Regions from separate parts of the Homo sapiens genome. Here region 2 is linked to region 1. The links are contacts of gene promoters, found by promoter capture Hi-C in blood cells and fetal thymus (Javierre and others, 2016). All regions are on one chromosome and are shown on one strand. The core of a region is centred on a gene start or on the middle of the fragment in contact, and the rest is flanking DNA. Distances in the headings are between cores, read along the strand shown.

Region 1 (4,064 bases), core at 491-2,990:
ACATGGTACAATGGGTTACTTCATGATAGTTATTAGACCATTATCAGATCTTCTAACTGTCTTACATAGCTTTCCCTTTTCATCTTTTAGTCACACCGGGATAGGCAAATTTACAAATATTTCATAATATATTCTGCTCCAGAAAAGATAAAAAGTGGGCATGTGAATTCCACGCTGAAAAAAAAACAAAAAACCTTTCCTGAGGTACAAGGTGGCCCTATTTGCTCAAAGAGCAAAGAAATTAAGACTACCAAAAAATTCTGCAACATCTCATAACTTCAACACACTCATGTAACTCTGGTGGATTTCATCAGACCTCTCCTCTGTGACAACTGTTTAATTACCACACATTGGTGATCTCATATAATCCTCAACAACCCCATGAAGTAGGCATTATTTACAAATTACTTATTTTACAAAGAAGGAAACTGAGGTTGAGAGAGGCTAAATCATATGCCCAAAGTAAAAGAGATAATAAATGCTACTTTGGGAATATGAAAATAGTCCAGCTAATATTTTGTGGTTATTTTCAAAGTTGCTTAAGAGTTTAGGACACAATCTAATAATATCCTCCAATGATTCTATTAAGTGAAAATCAAAAGATGGCTAAACAAACTAAATAGTAATTACGGGTCACCTTCATTGTGTAACAACTGCCCACGTTACTCAAGGTCACCTTCGGTGCAAATCAAGTATGAAAATTAATTTGTTCTCCTCAATCTATTGCATTTTCTCTACATAATGCTGGTCTCAAAACTCCCTGTACCTGCCCAACCTTTGGATAAGAAAAAAATGACCACGATTGCCTTCAGGACAGCTAACATTGTTTTGTTTTTGTTTTCGAGACGGAGTCCCGCTCTTGTTGCCCAGGCTGGAGTGCAGTAGCAGTCTTGGCTCACTGCAACCTCCGCCTCCCGGGTACAAGCGATTCTCTTGCCTCAGCCTCCCAAGTAGCTGGGATTACAGGCGCCCACCACCACGCCCGGCTAATTTTTGTATTTTTAGTAGGGACGGCGTTTCACTATGTTGGCCAGGCTGGTCTCGAACTCCTGACCTCAGGGGATCCGCCCGCCTTGGCCTCCCAAAGTGCTGGGATTACAAGTGTGAGCCACCGCGCCTGGCCAGCTAACATTGTTAATCCACAAATAACTTCAAAGCTGCATCGATACCATTTGGGTTGTTTCCCTGCAATTAAACCAGGTGAAGAGCTAGATTTACAGTTTCCGTCTATTACAGTAATAGGAATTGGAGAAGATATTTTTCTATACAGGGTTAGGAGTAAACATATCCCCAAAGCTAAAATGTAGGACATCACTTAAGGAACGAGGTGTCTACCAAGAATGTCCTTCCCTGAAATCAAAGGTTACTGAAGAATTAAAAAGCAGGGCTAGACTATCACTCCGATAACAGAAAGAGAGCTGGAAACCGAAACAGAAATACTGGGTGATAAAGCCAATGCTAAGGACATCATCCCAATGACTTGGGACGAGATGGGAGACAGACAGCATTCAAGATTAGAAGGCCGAGATGTTCGTAAAAGGAAAGCACACGAGAGGCCGCGAGGACACATTGATATAAGGTTGTTGTAAATGATTTGTCATAATTTTTGCTCACCTTGGAGACGATTTAGTGCGCTTTTGACCAAGGGAAACATCGTGAAGGTGAAGCTAGAACTGCGGCAATACAGCTGCTGCTTTGGTGCCAATTCGCTTCAGGTACCCTTGAAGTGAGCTGAAAAACAAAATGGCTTTCAGCCGGGATCCGTAATGAGATTTGACGAAATCTCGCGATACCTGTAAAACCTATAGTAATTGCAATCCCTTTTCCCGCGAGGAAAAATAAAGGCCTTTTGGGAAATGTAGTTTCCGGCTTTATAAAATGACGTATGGTGGGTGGTATCTAATGAAGAATGAAAGAACTCCTTGAAGCCAGGTTTAGAGCTCTATAGAGGGCAGCCGAGAGACAGATCTTCGACCGAATCGTCTAAGGAACTAGCTTCAAAATGGCGTTCAAGTTCCACAAGCTTCGGTTTAGTATCTCCACACTAGCTCTTTCTTCTTTCTGTTCCCCCAAAACTTCCTTTACTTCTCTCATTTTTTTTGTCTGCTATTACTACTATACTAATTGGCTTAGCTTTTAGTTTTCAAATAACGTCAAGTTTAGAGAAAAGTTGCAAGAACAGTAAAAACTTCTGTAATATGTAGATAAATACGTGATAAAATAACTTTGGAAAGCTATTGGCCGGGCGCGGTGGCTCACGCCTGTAATCCCAGCACTTTGAGAGGCCAAGGTGGGCGGATCACGAGGTCGGAGTTCGAGACCAGCCTGGCCAAGATGGTGAAACCCCGTCTCTACTAAAAATACAAAAATTAGCCGGCGTGGTGGCGCGCGCCTGTCATCCCAGCTACTCAGGAGGCTGAGGCAGAATAATCACTTGAACCCGGGAGGCGGAGGTTGCAGTGAGCCGAGAACGTGCCACTGGACTCCAGCCTGGGCGACAGAGCGAGACTACGTCTCAAAAAGAAAGAAAGAAAAGAAAGCTGTTAGGCCTGGCGCGGTGGCTCACGCCTGTAATCCCAGCACTTTGGGAGGCCGAGGTGGGCGGATCACGAGGTCAGGAGATCGAGACCATCCTGGCCAACATGGTGAAACCCCATCTCTACTAAAAATACCAACAATTAGCTGGGCGTGGTGGCATGTGCCTGTAATCCCAGCTACTCTGTAGACTGAGGCGGCAGAATCGCTTGAACCAGGGAGTCGGAGGTTGCAGTGAGCCAAGATACCACCACTGCACTCCAGCCTGGTGACAGAGCAAGACTCCGTCTCAAAAAAAAAAAAGAAAAGAAAAGAAAAGAAAAAAAAGAAAGAAAAGAAATGGCAACACGGCAAAACCCCGTCTCTACTAATATACAAAAAATTAGCTGGGCATGGTGGCACATGCTTCTAATCCCAGCTACTCGGGAGGCTGAGGCATGAGACTTGCTTGAACCGGGGAGGCGGAGGTTACAGTGAGCCAAGATCGCACCACTGCACTCTAGCCTGAGACCTGTCCCAAAACAAAAAAAATAAAATACATACAGTTCAGTGGCATTAATGGCATTCACATTGTTGTGCAACTATCACCATTATTCATCTCTAAGACTTTTTCATCGTGTAAAACTAAATGCTTTGATTATACATTTTGACTATTGAAAATATTAACATTATTCCAAAAGTCAAAACTAAACAGACTAGTGTACTTAGAGAAGTGTCATTCCCTCCCCTAACTGTTGCATTCCATTTCCACCAATTCCTATAGGTAACCGATTTCATTACTTTCTGGTTTATCTTGTGTGTTTCCTTTTGCAAAAATAGGCAAATACCTGTATGTTTTCTTATTTCTCTATTTTATACAAATGTAGCATAAAAATCCATTATCATTTTACATAAGTCTTCCTCATTCCTTTTTTACAGCTGCAAAATCTGTGGTGTATATGTGCTATAGTATATTCAGTCAATCTCCTATGTTGGAATATTTAGGTAGTTTCAAGAATATTTCAATTTCAATAATGCTGAAATGAATAACTTTGTGCACACATATTTTCATATTGCTGGATGTCTCTCTCCAAGGTAGGTTACTAGAAGTGGGATTGCTGGATTAAAGGATAAATATATGTGTAGTTTTTTTAGATATTGCCAAATTATAGATGTTGTAACGTTTTGCCTTCCCACCAGCAACGTATTAATATAAAGGGTGCCTGACTCCCCACAGCCTTGCTAATAGCATGTAGTGTCAAGCTTTTGGATTTTTGCCAATATGATAGGTAAGATATCCCTTTTAAACTTTAAAATTTTTATTTTTAAAACATACACATAGTAAAATTCACTTTTTGGTGTACAGTTCTATGCGTTTTGACAAATGCATACAATTGTGTCACCACCACCACAATTAAGGACAGAATAGCTCTAGCATCATAAAAACACCCTTGTTTGACCTCTTTGTGATCAACCCTTTTCCCTACCCCTAGCCCCTGGCAGCCACTAATCTGTTCTCTGTACCAATGAGTTTGCCTTTTCCAGAATGT
Region 2 (4,064 bases), core at 569-3,068, 270 kb after region 1:
TTGCTTATCTCCTTTTAAGGGGCCATCAGTATGAAAGGTTAATATTTTCAATACTGTTGATCCTTATGTGATAGTAATCTGATGTGAGAGCCAGATGTTGATATATTTGCCACTTGGAAAAGCAACACGTTGTACTGTCTGCAAAACTAAAATTATTTTTTAATCTACGATTATTAATTTGTGCAACTTTTTCTTCATATGTTTATCTTGTCATATCATATTTAAGACACTATTGAGGTTTTATTTTTGTTGAGAAAGTCTGGGTAATTGTCATTGTCAAAGTGATAGTAATCTTTAGAATCCTTGGCTTTGCCTCTTTTTTAAAGATAATGAGGTAGTTAATACATAGCAAAATAACTGCCATCACAAATCTAAGGCCTAATAATAAGTTTATCTCTTTCCCACGATTAAATAGGTGTTTATAAATCTTGTGGCTGGTTTATTGTTGAAAAATTATAAGCTAGTGTCTAGTATCATTGTAGCAGATTTTTTCCACAAGATTTCCTTGAAACTGTTTAATACAACAGTTTCAGGTGCTTAGTGTACTTATTTGTTCATGAAAAAAATGAAGAAAAAAAAAATTAAAGCTTCTAACATGAAGGGTAACATTTGTCATTGCCATATTTTATCATTTAGTGACATTTAAAAAAAATTTTTGGCCGGGCATGGTGGTGCACTCCTGTAGTCCCAGCTACTCAGGAGGCTGAGGCAGAAGAATCGCTCAAACCTGGGAGCTGGAGGTTCCAGTGAGCCAAGATTGTGCCACTGCACTCCCATCTGGGTGACAGAGCGAGACTCCATCTCAAAAATAAAAAACAAAAAAACAAAAAAAAACTTTTCATTTTGGAATAATTTTCTGTTTACATGAAAGTTGAAAAGGTAGTGCAGAGAGTTCCCATATACCCTACATCTGGTTCCTCAATTGTTAACATCTTACATTGCCATGGTAGATTTGTCAAAACTAAGAAATTGACACATTATTATTAATAACTTCAAACTGCATTTGTATTGCACCAGTTTTTCTATCCAGGGTTCTACATTGTATTTAGCTGTCATGTCTCTAACAGTCTTCTGGTCTATGACGGTTTCTCAATCTTTATTTTTTCATTATCTCATCAGTCTTAAGGAGGACCGTCCAGGTAGATATCCTGTAGAGTGTTCTCTGATCTGAATTTATAGTTTTTCTTGTGATTAGACTGAGATTAGACTGAGGTTTTGAAAGAATATACCAGAGGTGACATACCCTTTTTGTCACATCATATCTCATATCGGGGGTACATGATAAGCACTTGCTGTTACTGATGATGTTAACTTTCATCACTTGGCTAGGGTAGAGTTTGTCAGGTTTCTCTCCTGTAGAGCTGCTACTTTTACCTGTCCCTCATCTGTTCATTGGAATCCAGTCACTCAATCTAGCCCACCTGAATGGGAGGATGGTGGAAATTAAGCTGTATCTCCTATAGTGGGTAATATCTACACATAAAATTTGGATTTTTTTAAAGAAAAAATTATCTTTTCTTACCCATTTATTTAGCCTTTGATTTATATAATTATATACTCATCTATTTTTAGTTCGTGCATTGGACTATAAACCATTACTGCATTTTTTTTTTTTTTTTGCTCAAATTGTTTCACTTTGACCATTGGGAGCTTTTTTTAAGGTGAGGTCCTCTACCCTTTGATATGTCCCTATCCTTTTGGCTTTGAGCACTTTATTACTTTCTGGCATTACAGGATGCTCCAGGTTCATGTTATATTGTCCTGGCCCCAGAATCAGCCATTTCTTGAAGACATCATGGTTCCTTTTACTGAAAATTGACATTTACAAATGTAAACACACCCATATAATTTGCAAATATATCCTTCCATTCTGTGAGTTGTCTTTTTACTTTTTTATATCATCTTTTCAGTACTAATCTTTAAAATTTTGATTACATTTAATTTACCTATTTTTTTCTTGTGTTGCTTTTGCATTTAGTGCATATCCAAGTATTCATTGCTTAATCGAAGGTCATGAATTTTTTCACCTGTGTTTTCTTATTTTATAGTTCTAGCTCTTGTATTTATGTTTATGATCTATTTTCAGTTTATTTTTGTATATGGCATGAGGTGGGAGTCCAACTTCATTTTTTGTATTTTGATATCCAGTTGTTCTAACACCATTTGTTGAAAAGACTATTCTTTCTTCATTGAAGAGTCTTGACACCATTGTTGAAAATCAATTGACCATAGATGTATGTGTTTATTTCTAGGCTCTCAATATTATTGTATTGATCTATATGTCTGTCCTTATGCCAGTGTGACATTGTTTTAATTACTGTAGCTTTGTGGTAAGTTTTGCAATCAGGAAGAAGTCCTACAGCTTTATTTTTCTGTCTCAAAGTTGTTTTGCTATTTGAGGTTCCTTGAAATTTCATTTGAATTTGATGATTGGCTTTTATATTTCCTCAAAGAAACTAGCTGGGATTCTGTTAGATATTGCATTGAATCTGTAGATTAATTTGAGGAATATTGCCATCTTAACAATATTAAATCTTCCCCTCCATGAACATCTAATTTCTCTCCGTTTATTTAGGTCTTTAATTTCTTTTAATAATGAAATTTGATTTAGGTCCTTTAATTTCTTTAGTGTAAAAGTCTTGGACTTATTTTCTTAAATTTATTCCTAAATATTTTATTCTTTTTGAGCCTTTTGGAAATAAAATTGTTTTAATTTTATTTTCAGATAATTCTTTGTTAGTGTATAGAAATACAACAGATTTTTGTATACTGATTCTGTATCCTGCAACTTAGTTGAGTCCATTTATAAGTTCTAATAGTTGTATGTGTGCGCTCACGCGTGTGTGTGCGCGCGCACGCACGCGATTTAGTTTTCTATTAAGAAAATCATAGTCTATGAGTAGAAATAGTTTTACTTTTTCCTTTCCAATATGAATATCTTCAACTTCTTTTTCTTGCCTAATTGCCCTTCTTAGAAATTTCCATACAATGTCGAACGTAAGTGGTCAGAGCAGTTGGTTGTCATGTTTTTGATCTCAGGGAAAGCTTTCAGTTCTCCACCATTAAGTATGACATTAGCTGTGGATTTCTAATAGGTGTCTTTTATCAGGTTGAGTAAGTTCTACATTGGGTTATATTTTTTGTTTGTTTTGATAATTAAAAAAATAAATACCTAGATTACCCTTGTTAAAACTTAAGAGGGGCTGGTTTCTCCATTAGGTTTTACTGGATGTTCTTCAGGAAACTGAAGCTCTACTTTTATTTTCTTTTCCAGAGTATATATAAGTATTAGAGATAGTTCCTCTGCCATAGCTGGGTAACCATCTGCAACAAGAATATTCTAATATCCATCATGTATAACATGGAATATATTAAAACTGTTGTTAAGTTTTAAGGTTTAGTGATAGTATCTAGATATAATTTTCTTTGCCACCTAAGTCTAAAGTGTCAGGATCTGTTCAGTACTTCTAAATTTATTAGAAGGGATCTGTTCAGTATAACACTTAATTTTCCAGTACATGTTTTCCATTTTATGCCCAATTTATCTTCTCTGATTTGGAACAAATTAGTGATAGTGAAGAATCATATAAATGGCAGCAGAGTATGTGAAGACTGAAGTTTGGGTGTAATGTTAAAGAAAAGTCTAAATTGAAGTTCAAGATGGAAACAAAATGTCAGAACCAGACAGTTTTGGGTATGAGATTCTTAAGGATGAGCTGAGGTTGTAAACTTATAAGGTAGGCTATTAGATCAGAAGCCTGGAAAATTGGGAGTATGTATTAGGATTGGAAACAGTGTTTAGAGCTGACCAGAGTTAAGATAGTAGTGTTCATCTTTCAACTTAGCTGCTCTGGTTATCTCTTCCTGCGTAACAATTATCCCAAGCCTTAGTAGCTTAAAGTGACAAGAATCAGCTGGGTGCAATGGCTCATACCTGTAATAACAATACTTTGGGAGGCCAAGGCAGGAGGATTGCTTGAGGCTGGGAGTTTGAGGCCAGCCTGGGCAACATAGTGAGACCCCATATCTACAAAAAAATAAAAGAATTAACCAGGTGTGGTGGC

What was found. Contacts are between HindIII fragments. The CHiCAGO score rates a contact against its expected background, and 5 or more counts as called.
Region 2: a contact is called between a fragment that was not itself captured here and the fragment with the promoter of COX7B in region 1, in 1 of 17 cell types (total B cells). The highest score is 5.2, in total B cells.

The regions. Positions count from the first base shown.
Region 1 is chrX:77,897,144-77,901,207 of GRCh38, reverse strand. It overlaps COX7B (cytochrome c oxidase subunit 7B), which reads right to left and starts at 1,740. Exons shown (of 3, transcript NM_001866.3): 1 at 1,615-1,740. The coding sequence starts at 1,654. RefSeq lists an enhancer at 1,537-1,786. The HindIII fragment of the contact is 2,290 bases long and covers 1-2,025 here.
Region 2 is chrX:77,628,757-77,632,820 of GRCh38, reverse strand. All of the region lies in intron 19 of ATRX (ATRX chromatin remodeler), which reads left to right. Among named protein-coding and RNA genes, the nearest start is that of ATRX, 160 kb to the left of the region's middle. The HindIII fragment of the contact is 2,458 bases long and covers 590-3,047 here.